2 separate regions of the Homo sapiens genome follow, and region 1 is linked to region 2. Evidence: promoter capture Hi-C in 16 types of primary human blood cells and fetal thymus (Javierre and others, 2016). All regions are on one chromosome and are shown on one strand. Each heading gives the region's core, a stretch centred on a gene start or on the middle of the fragment in contact. The rest is flanking DNA. Distances are from core to core; before and after follow the strand shown.

Region 1 (5,642 bases), core at 1,541-4,040, 2.5 Mb after region 2:
AGAGAGATTGATTCTATTTTCTGAGGCCTAAAGTGCCCCAACATTGTAACAAAAGACTGTGAGTTATGAACCAGGTACTATGGCTGAAAACCTACATATACATGTATCATCATATCACACTTGGCAAACAACTCTTTGTACATTTCTGTAGCACTGCAGTGTTCAGTCTCTGACTTGGTGTGTCTTTCTCATCTGCCTCTTTGTTCTGCTGCTGTCCTAGAAATTAGAGACTTTAAAAAATTCCTTGGCTTTTTGGTAGAAAGAAACTCCCAGACTGGGTCCAAGCTGAAAATGAATCCCTTACTGGGTGAAAAACATGGATGCGGTAACAATTCCTGGCTGTAAATGCTCATAATATTACTGTTGAACCATTTTATGCTAATAAATTATCTGGGACCTACTTCCCTTTTGGTTTATTCCTCTTTTTTTCTCCTGTTGCTACTTATAACCATCCTTGTCAACTATCTACATTTTACTATTAAATTATTCATATAATGTTGGTGATTTCAAAGTTTTCTTGTATTATTTTTGGGCATTTGGCCGAAAGGCACTGCCTCCATTTTACAAGTTAGCATGTATCCAGAGGCCCTGTCCTGCAACAAAGGTGCAGGTGCCTCAGTGGCAATACGTGTAAGAAAATGTTAATTTTTAGGGTAAAAATTTCATTAGAAACTGTCTTTGTGGAATACAATATTAGTTAATCTTTACACATGTTTTTAAAGGAAGACGAAAGATTGCCACTAAAAATAAATTCGTACTGAAAGCATCTCTATCTACTCTCTCCATTTTTAAAGTACCTCACTTAGTATCTTTGTTTTCATTTGTTAAATGCAAGGTCATCCTTTGAATGTTGTCTTCAACTATGCTTGAAATAGCTTGAGACCCAGCAGATAATTCTGACCAGGAGGTATCAGCAGACAGTGGGCAGCACAGTTAGAGGAAAAAAATGTTGCAGGGCCCCACTCCCAATAAAAACCTACAATAAAAAATTTAAAAATTTTAATAAAGAGGAAAATGACAAAGAGGTTTTCCAAAGGATGTTCATATTCTCTATTTAAAAACCCCACTGGGCCGGGTACGGTGGCTCAGGCCTATAATCCTGAGCCCTGGAGTTCGAGACCAGCTTTGGCAACATGGTGAAACCTTATCTCTACCAAAAATACAAAAATTAGCCAGTCTCATAACCCGCTCTTAAATAAATAGATTAAAATTTAAAAATAAATAAATAAATAAATAAATAAATAAATAAATAACCCCACTGATATGAACATTTCTTCCATTTTGGAGTAAAGGTGCCTACAAGGCTAGGCAATGTCCATATTTCTTTCCTGAATGTTTCCAACGGGGCTGCGCCTAGAGCAGATGTATCATAAATACTAATTACTTATTATAATGACCAAGCTACATTGTTAGCATAGAATAATTCCACAGGCTTCCCTATTGGTTTGTTTGATCCTAAGCCTATTAATACCTGCTTCTATGTCAGAAAATCTACATTAGGCCAGGCATGGTGGCTCACACCTGTAATCCCAGCACTTTGGGAGGCCGAGGCAGGTGGATCACCTGAGGTCAGGAGTTCGAGACCAGCCTGGCCAACATGGCAAAACCCCACCTCTCCTAAAAATACAAAAATTTAGCCGGGCATGGTGGCAGGTGCCTGTAATCCCAGCTACTCAGGAGGCTGAGGCAGGAGAATCGTTTGAACCCAGGAGGCGGAGGATGAAGTGAGCCTCAAAAAAAAAAAAAGAAAAAAAATATTATTTTGATACATGTTTTAAAGCTCACCTTCGGCATTATGAGATAATCCCTCAAGTGAGGAAAAAGGTCCATTTATTAATCTCAAAGAAAACAGTTACAGCAGATGTCACTGGTTAAGAGTTCAGTTGGTGAATAGCATTTCACAATTTGTACCAACATCTGGGGAAAGACGCTTTGCATGGAACTGTAAAACAATTGAGCACCAAATCTGCACAACTGCGTTTCTAGAAAATGCGATGGGTTTTATAGAGATGAGGTCTTGCTATGTTTTCCAGGCTGGTCTCGAACTCTTGGCCTCAAGCGATCCTCCCGCCTCGGTCTCCCCAAGCGCCGGGAGTACAGGCGTGAGCCACCGACGGAAATGGATTTTAAGTGAAAGTCCTATCTTCGTTTGCAAATCAATTTTTCCAGGATCAAAGTTCTAGCAACCATAAATCCTATCCTTCTAGACATAGGGACCCACATAAGGGCCACTTGATGTGACACTTGCCCCGACAGCGGTGCCACCTGGCCCCTAGGTGGCAGGTGCGTTTTTAACTAAACCCAAGAGTCTGAAGTCACATTATTCTCTTGCCTTGAAAGCTTAAGAGTTGGTTCCTAATCGGTGGCTTAACTCGGTCTCTCTCCAGGCAAGGCCACCTGTTTGCTGATCTTTCACAGGGCGAGGGGACCGGAGCCCTTCAATGCAGCGCCCTCTTGGCCTGAAGAGGGGGCGACTGGGCGCCCAGACCGCGTCTTTCTCACTGAGATCCCAGCTCCTGGACGACTGCCTCTTTTCGGGTTCGGCTCATTCCGCAATAAGTGGAGGGGTCCCGCCTGATCCTAGGGGCCGGCGCCCTTTTCCTTCCCTCCCTGCGCTTGCGAACCCCTCCGGGCGTCTCCGGAGCCGCGACCCCTGCTGGGGACCCCGGGGGCGGGAGGCCGAGGGGCGCGGCGAGGGCCGTGACGCGAGGCGGGGCCGGCCAATGGGAGCGCTCCGCGGCGCAGGCTGAGCCGCCGGGCCATAAAAAGGAGGCGCGGCCGGGCTTTCCAGCCTGTGGCCGCTCCCGGCTCGGAGTGTGATCTAAGCAGGTTGCGTACCTTCCTCAGGTGACTCCGGCCACAGCCCATTGTCCGCGGCCACCGGCGGAGTTTAGCCGCAGACCTCGAAGCGCCCCGGGGTCCTTCCCGAACGGCAGCGGCTGCGGCGGGTCCATGGAGAAGGGCCCTGTGCGGGCACCGGCGGAGAAGCCGCGGGGCGCCAGGTGCAGCAATGGGTTCCCCGAGCGGGATCCGCCGCGGCCCGGGCCCAGCAGGCCGGCGGAGAAGCCCCCGCGGCCCGAGGCCAAGAGCGCGCAGCCCGCGGACGGCTGGAAGGGCGAGCGGCCCCGCAGCGAGGAGGATAACGAGCTGAACCTCCCTAACCTGGCAGCCGCCTACTCGTCCATCCTGAGCTCGCTGGGCGAGAACCCCCAGCGGCAAGGGCTGCTCAAGACGCCCTGGAGGGCGGCCTCGGCCATGCAGTTCTTCACCAAGGGCTACCAGGAGACCATCTCAGGTCAGTGCGCCCGCGGGCTGCTAGAGCGTGCGGGCGGCGGGGGCGGTGCTTGCAGGAAACGCGCGCCGGCTCCAGGAAGTTTCCGGAGTTGCCTCACTTTTGGCGCAGGAAGCCGGGCGCTGTCACCTCCGAACCCGCCCTAGCCTGCCGCCCTGCCGAGGCCCTGCGTGGGGCACAGTCGGGGCTTCCTGGGTGGCAGCGACCTCTCAGCCCCGGAACTCGCTGCAGCCGCCTTCCAGGGGCCCTTCCCGCTCCCAGCGCGCAGCCCTCCTAGAACGCCCCGGGTGGGCGTGGACGGGAGCCCGGAGCCCTCTCGCCTGAGCGCCCAGCGCGGGATTCTCGGGGTACCTGCGGTTCCAAACTTGCCCACGATAAGGATCACCTGGGCACTTGCTGCGGCGACGGCTTCCTGGGTAGTTCCTTATTGAGATCCCATTGTCAGGGTGTGTATCTGGATTGAAGCCTCGGCGCGATCCTTCCCCGAAACCTCGGGGACCTGCATTCCCACTGATTTGCCAGGGGATCGGAGTCTTAGAGTTGTGCTTTTTTTTTTGTCCACCTCAAGTTTACTCCAGTTCAGGACATTTACAAAATTCGGCACAATTTTGGGCACGGGCTTCCCCGGAGTTTGAGGTGTGAGGTTGATTGGGTGAGTTTGCTGCTGAAATCTGTTTCCTCCCCCCACCCCCAACCCCGCAAAAAGCAGTAAAGCTACTCCGGGATTCGGAGGGCTCCGTGGGTTCCAGGACTCAGTCTCATCCCCGCACCCTCCCACCCTAAAATAAAGCCGGGTTGACCCGGTGCTGTTAGCGTCTGAGGCGTGTCGGCTTTTCACCCAGAGGGTGGGGATGCAATCAGTGTGGGTAGGATGCAAGATGGGGTGATGGAGAGTGGAAAATGGGGACTTTGCTGCCTGTTGGCCAGAGAAGCAGTATTGGTCTGTGTTTAAAAAAATAAAGCTTCTGGCTTCTACAGCTGGGACCAAAGACATTATTTTCCAGTCTACACCTTCCGTGTGTCTTGGTGACATTTATTTATTTGCCCTAAGAAGCATTCTACCGTTCACTGTTTTTTGAAAGAAAAACAGTGCGCTGGAAAGGCAATCTCCCTGCCCCAGTTATTTCTCTGAAGGAGTGTAGAGCGATTCCACCAAATAGACCCTGGGAAAAAGAAAGTTATTTTTTGCCCAGTCTTCCACACCCCAAAGGAAGGGTGGGAAATCAGAATGTGAAAGAGACGGGGCCCCAAAAGGAAATGATGCTACACTCTAAAACCGGCAGTGACTTCTAGTTCTGTTTCCAAATTCACTTTTTTTTACCCCTCAATTGCAAAAGTTTGGAATCTCAGAAGAGATTTCAAAATACAAAGACTGAAAAATAAACTTTCAGTTTTCTGTGGGATCAGCTCTTTGGAGGTCTAGGGCTTTAAATTTGTGTGTGTGTGTGTGTGTGTGTGTGTGTGTGTGTGTGTGTGTGAGATATTTCACAATGTAATGAAATGTCTTCTTAAGGCCTTACTCATTTTGCCCCTTGCAGACACAGAAAGTGGTTTACTTCACAGCATCGGCCAGGCTTTGGGAATCCTCCCTTAAAGAGAATTCATAGGACAGTGTTCTGTAATCTAGCATGGATCTAATTACCCAAAGAGAGAGGAATTTCTGACCCTGAGACAGGTCACAGAATTATCTAAAGTGACTCACAGATTTACTTGAGAAATGGTTAGCTGAAATATCTCATGAGCGAAGATTCATTTAAAGAGGATTAATAACTGCAAAGAACACATCATTCCACATTAGAAAACTGTTCTGGTTGGCCGAGCTCGGTGCTCACGCCTGTAATCCCAGCACTTTGGGAGGCCGAGGTGGGCGGATCACCTGAGGTCAGGAGTTCAAGACCAGCCCGGTCAACATGGCGAAACCCCGTCTCTACTAAAGATACAAAAAAATTAGCCGGGTGTGATGGCGGGCGCCTGTAGTCCCAGCTACTCGGGAGGCTGAGGCAGGAGAATCACTTGAACCCAGGAGGAGGAGGTTGCAGTGAGCCGAGATTGCACCACTGCACTCCAGCCTGGACGACAGAGGGAGACTCTGTCTCCAGAAAAAACAAAAAAAACAAAAAAACTGTTCTGGTCAAGTTTTACTATTTAAAAAGTCCATGGGCCGGGCGCGGTGGCTCACACCTGTAATCCCAGCACTTTGGGAGGCCGAGGCGGGCGGATCACCTGAGGTCAGGAGTTCGAGACCAGCCTGGCCAACATGGGAAAACCCATTCTCTACCAAAAATACAAAAATTAGCCGGGCATGGTGTCAGGTGCCTGTAATCCCAGCTACTCAGGAAGCTGAGGTAGG
Region 2 (5,931 bases), core at 1,190-3,689:
GTTCCACGGCAAGTATCGTGCGAGAAAGTCAATCAGAAGCATATTACCCATTATAACCTAGCCTTAGAAGTCATGTAGTCTCTAGCCAGGTGCGGTGCCTCACGCCTGTAATCCTGGCATTTTGGGAGGCCCAGGCGGGAGGATCTCTTGAGGCCAGGAGTTCGAGACCAGCCTGGCCAACACAGTGAAACCTCATCTCTGCCGAAAAATACAAAAATTAGCCGGGCGTGGTAGCTCATGCCTGTAGTCCCAGCTACTCAGGAGGCTGAGGAGAATCACTTGAACCCGGGAGGCGGAGGTTGCAGTAAGCCGAGATTGCGCCACTGCACTCCAGCCTGGGCAACACAGGGAGACTCCCTCTCATCAAAAAGAAACAAAAAACAAGTTATGTAGTGTCAGTTCTGCTGCATTGTATCTAGGCAGACACAAAATTATATCCAGTTTTGACAGGAGGGGAAATAGACTCTACTCTTGGTGGAGAGAGGCAAGGTTCTCAAAGAGCATATGGGACCAGAAATATTGCTGTGGCCATTTTCAGAATGTATAACTTGCTACAGATACATTGAAAACCTCCTAAACACCTTGATGTGTGGGGGATATAAATGAGATGTATAAGTACAGCGTGATCCCTTTTCTGTCTTTTAAAAAGCACAAAACAAAACCATGTTTCCAAATGTGCATACATTGTTTAAAGATACATGTTTTTCAAAGTTTCTAAGTGTAACCTGGGTAGTCAGCCAATGAAACAATGATCTGTTCAAATCATGGTGGAAAAACTGGCCCAAGAGGCACCAGATAATTCCATAAGAGATGTTTAAGGGTGAATTTTACTTAGAAAAATACCTCTCAGTAATTTACTTTTAAATGTAAGCCCTTCCTAAAAAGCATGTACCTTCACTGTAGTGAATGAATGGCAGCAGGCCTTCCTGTTCTTTCTGTGTTGCAACTTGGCATTGAGCTCTGTCACACTGAGGAGCTGACCAGATGTTGTCTCAAAGTGGTTTTCAGAAAGTCAAGAGTTGTAAGGACCTTCTTGAGGCCAGGGAGTAAATGTTAGTCACTTTGTATTCACATATCAAACACATAAAAGGGAAATTGTTAAGCTTTTTGACTGAAGTACACCAGTCTCTCATTCAGTAACCTAGAATGCTTATAATGACAAAGTAAATTCTGACCTCCTCAATAACTAGTGGGGTAATTCTAATGTCTCAGCCCCAGTGATTTTTCTTTATATCCCAGTATTAAAATTACAATGTTGGCCTTCTAAATCAGATGACATCTCTAAAAAAAATTGCCTTTATAACTTATGAAATCTTTTCTATTTGATTCATGTTTACTTGATAGGATGATAGCACTATTTTAGGCATAGAAATAGGATTAGTTCACTCTAATGCTTTAGACATATTTACTATTATGAGACTCTGAAAAAACAACTACCTCCATGAGCAATACTTCATAGGAAAGAATGGGCTCAGAGCAAGGTGAGTGTAGCAGTGATACTCTTCTGTGTGGTTAGTTGATATTTTCATTGTTTTGTAATATCCTATGAAGCAACAGCCATTTTTTCTTTTCTTTTTTTTTCTTTTTTTTTTTTTTTTACTATTGTTGTTCTCTTTTGAGGAAGAAGAGAACATGCCTTAATTTTTTAGAAGAAAAAAAAGCTTCTCATTAAATCAATTAAAATAACCAATAGCAATTTTAAAACAACATCCTGAAGCAATTTATTGAAATCAGCTTGGAAGGAGAAAAATTTCTATTTAATTCTTTCTAACAGTGAGGCATTTTTCTCTTATTGGCTAGGTTTAGAGAGAAAACCTAGCTGTGTACCTACCTGAAAGGTAACTGTGGGAATGAATAATGGAAAGATGCTTTAAGTTCCCTTGACACAGCAGGATGACATTGTTATGTGCCATAGGCACACATACTAAATAATTTAAATATTTGTGTAGTTTTATTTTACATGTCATGTGGTTCTTAATCCCACTAATCCTATCTATTATACATAAAGCCCTGAAAATGAATGTCCTTAACTTTGTTTCATCTTGAATGAAAGAAAGAACATACATCAAATTTGAGAGCTGAAGAACTTAACCAAAGGATGAATATTAGTATATTGTTGTATTACCTGTAATCTTAGAACACTCTGAGATGCCCAGGTAAAAGACTAACAATTTGATTCTTCCCTTCGAATTTGGGGAATGACAGTCTGTTCTTTAAACTTCTTTCCCCTTGCCAGTAGTGGATGGCAGTACCAATTGTAGGTAGGCATCAATTTTGTTTGTAGAACTGAGGCCTCAGAGGACTATGAAGAACCAGAGAGGGTTGTGGTCAAATGGTCCCCATTTCCATTATTTTCAACCTCACACTAACTCTTCATGACCTGCCTGAAGACATGGTCAGGGTGATTCTCACAGATACACCTGGGCTGGTGAGACATGTTGGAGAGAATCATATATTCCTACATATTAGAGCCAAAAAATTTTTGGTCTCTAATTTAGCTATGCCTTCAGCTGTCTAGAATTGTTTTAACCTGTCTCCAAGGCCAGCTTCATCCAACAGCAACTGTCCTCAACCACTACTTGCTTCACACTCTCAGCAGATAACCCTGCCTCCATTTCACTAAGAAAAGTGAACTATTTCATAGGTGTGCCTTCTACTGCCATACCTATAAGTTCATCTGTATCTGAACTTACCCTTACCTCCTCCCTCCCAGTCTTAAGAGGGTGGAAGATGGATCAATTCTTCATGACTAATACCTCCCTCTACCTGTGGGCTTGATGCTTTCTCTTTCAGGCTCCTTTAGAACCTGTCCCATCATTGTTTCTCTCTCCTGAATTTTCCATGTTACCTTTGCTAGCTACTGCCTCAAAGTTTATAAACATGCCCCATTTAGAGATTTCTCCCACTACCATCCTTTTCCTGCCTCCTTTTCACCACAAACTCCTAATCTGCAATAGGTATCCACTGTCTCTACTCAGGTGCAGGTTCACTCTTCATTGGTGGGTTGGCTTCAATCTCAGCCCTTCTTCAAACAACACTCTGGCAAAAAATCACCTGTTATGTCCTAACTAGACTCTTCCAGTTCTCACATCACTTTATTCCATCGTGGCATTTCATCCTGCTGTGTCCTTCCAGAAACTCTTCCCTTGGCTTCTCCACTCTCTCTTGCCCTCCTTTGGACATTCTTTCTCAGTTGTTCTTGATAATAGAAGCTTTTAATAATAACAATAGCTACCATTTATTGTGGTCTTCCCATGTATTAAGCATGTTATAAATAATAGCTCATTTAGTTCTTATGATAACCCTATGAATTGGTGGTCAGAAGCCAGACCAGAATTGGATCACTGGCCTATTCCTGAGCCAGACACTGGAAAGGGGCTGGATTTACTCTTATGTCAATCAGGCCTGTCTGAGATTGAGTATGAGGTGAGCTTCTCCTGATGTATGTGGCTGGGGGATGAAGGAGTATCTAAGTAAAATTGGAGTTCAGATCCTGGCTCTGCCAATTACTGGCTGTGTGGTGTTGACAACTTAATGTGTCTGGGCTTCAGATTCCTCATATCGGATATGGATAATATTACATGCCTTGTAGGGTTTTGGAAGGGTAAAATGAATTATTATATGTAAAGTGTTTAATACAGAGAATATAGGAAGCCCCCGTAAATGTTAGCTGATCTCCCATCCCACCCATCCATCCTCAACATTTCTACCACTGCCACCCTTACAAAATACAAACCTATTTTGTCACTCCCTGGCTTAAATCTCTTCAGAGACTCCCATAGCCTAATAATCAAATCTAAACTTTGGTTAGGGTGCTTTGGCCACAAGCTCAATCTGGCTTTAAAAAAAAATAAGGAAATGAGACAGTCAGAGGCAGAGCGAGGTTCGGGATTAGTTGTTTCATGATATCATTGTGAACCCAAGTTTCTGTCTCTCTCCTTCCATTCACAGAATCAGCTCCATCCTAATGCTGATTTCCTTCATTGTTATAATATGGCTGCCAAAAGTGTTTGGGGCTAAGTGCTTCTTTATTCATGCCCAGTAAGAGGAAGGGAGAGGCTTTCAGTAACTCGCAGATTTACTTTTCCAGAAACCTCTAACCAACTTCTCTGGCTATGTTCTTGGTTAGAATATATCACATGCTATTTCTGAGTCAATCACTGGAAGGAGATTAAGAGTGAGGTGAGCTTCCTTGGAGGTGTATGGGTGTGTGGAAAAGGGATGTATACTAAACAAAATTGGGTTTGTGTTAGGAAGAAGAATGTGGAGTGGATGCTGTTAAGGCAACCACTTATGTTCACTACATAAACAAAGCCCTTTTGGTGATCTTACCTTGAAGCAGCAGTTACTTCTTGCCATTCACAGCTTCAACCCAAAATATTCAATTAATAATTATTGTGTATATAAATGAATGACCTTTGAACCAAGTAACTTGCACTTGCCAAAATGTACAAGATGATTTCTGGCCTCTGTGTCTGTGCTGATGGTCCCTGGAATCATCACCCCTCATAATGCACCCCCCTTCCCTCTCTTCTCTTTCTCTCTCTGTCACACACACACACACCACACACACCTCCCCACCTCTCGCAAAACTGGCTTCTACCTACTCTGTGAGTGCTGCAGACTTCTGTGATCGTTGTTTTTCTGTTGCTTCTTCTAGAAGTCTTTTAAGGGTAGGAATTATGTCTTATTCCTCTTTTTATTGGTATATACATAATACATTATTTTGAATACAAGAATGAAAGATTGATCTTGTTCTATACCTTTTCAGAATGTAGATCTCACTCTTGGTGTATATACCTTTAACTAAGTTTACTTATATAGAACTTCTCATCTTATATATGATATACTTGGGTCTTAAGATTATTTTACTTAAAATAATCACAGATGCTTCTTCTTCTTCTTCTTCTTCTTCTTCTTCTTCTTATTATTATTATTATCATTATTATTATTTGAGACAGGGGTTTTGCTCTGTCACCCAGGCTGGAGTGCAGTGGCACAATCTCAGCTCACTGCAACCTCCACCTCCCAGGCTCAGGTGATTCTCCCACCTCAGCCTGCTCCGTAGCTGGGACCACAGGCATGCGCCACCACACCTGGCTAATTTTTTACATTTTTGATAGAGACGAAGTTTCACCATGTTGGCCAGGCTGGTCTCGAACTCCTGAGCTCAAGCAATACACCTGCCTTGGCCTCCCAAAGTGCTGGGATTACAGGCATGAGCCACCGCGCCCGGCCCCAGATGCATTTTTTATTATTAAAATGAACACTTTGAGGCAATGCGTTCAATAACAATACAACAGTCTACATACACACGGTTGACTGAATTATTTTGGCTTTAGCTCACTACATCGTGCATCACATGTTTTGGTGAAGGGACATTTTCCATCATTATGGGGACTGATTCTGTGAAGCCAGTCCAGGAAAGGAAAATGATTTTGTAATGCCTGAATATTGCATTAAAACACAAGTTATGTGAAACAAAATGTTTATTTCATTATTTTGTCTCTGAGTGAGAAAATATAGAAACAAAGACTTTTAAAAACTAGGCTCAGAAAGGACAAACATGATATGCTAAGAATAGGATAGTGCTTACTATTAGGAATGTAGATCTCCATTCCTAATATATTTTGATGTGTTCCTCATTTTAATGTGTTTACAAAACTGTCAACCCAAAAATGCAACCATAGTAAGGAAGTGGAAAGGATAAAGTGACCAAGATATTTGTCATGTTATATTTATGCACAGTAATGGAAGTTTCTATGTAATGTACAAACACACAGCTGCTTCTCAGAGTTCCCATAGGAGAAACCTTTGAAATTCAGGGAGTGCCTAATGGTTCCTTTGATCTTCCTTAGTCTTTTTGCACTTCAGGGAGCTTTGAAGGAGGGCAGTTCTGCTTATCACTGGACCTATTGTTAAGCAAAGAAA

What was found. Contacts are between HindIII fragments. The CHiCAGO score rates a contact against its expected background, and 5 or more counts as called.
Region 1: a contact is called between the fragment with the promoter of GCH1 here and a fragment that was not itself captured in region 2, in 5 of 17 cell types (total CD4 T cells, non-activated CD4 T cells, activated CD4 T cells and 2 more). The highest score is 8.3, in total CD4 T cells.

What each region holds. Positions count from the first base shown.
Region 1 is chr14:54,899,974-54,905,615 of GRCh38, reverse strand. It overlaps GCH1 (GTP cyclohydrolase 1), which reads left to right and starts at 2,790. Exons shown (of 6, transcript NM_000161.3): 1 at 2,790-3,295. The coding sequence starts at 2,953. RefSeq lists silencers at 2,436-3,075, 3,486-3,535, 3,546-3,605. The HindIII fragment of the contact is 1,914 bases long and covers 2,343-4,256 here.
Region 2 is chr14:57,383,310-57,389,240 of GRCh38, reverse strand. No RefSeq gene overlaps it. Among named protein-coding and RNA genes, the nearest start is that of NAA30, 4.3 kb to the left of the region's middle. RefSeq lists an enhancer at 5,433-5,931. The HindIII fragment of the contact is 1,551 bases long and covers 1,664-3,214 here.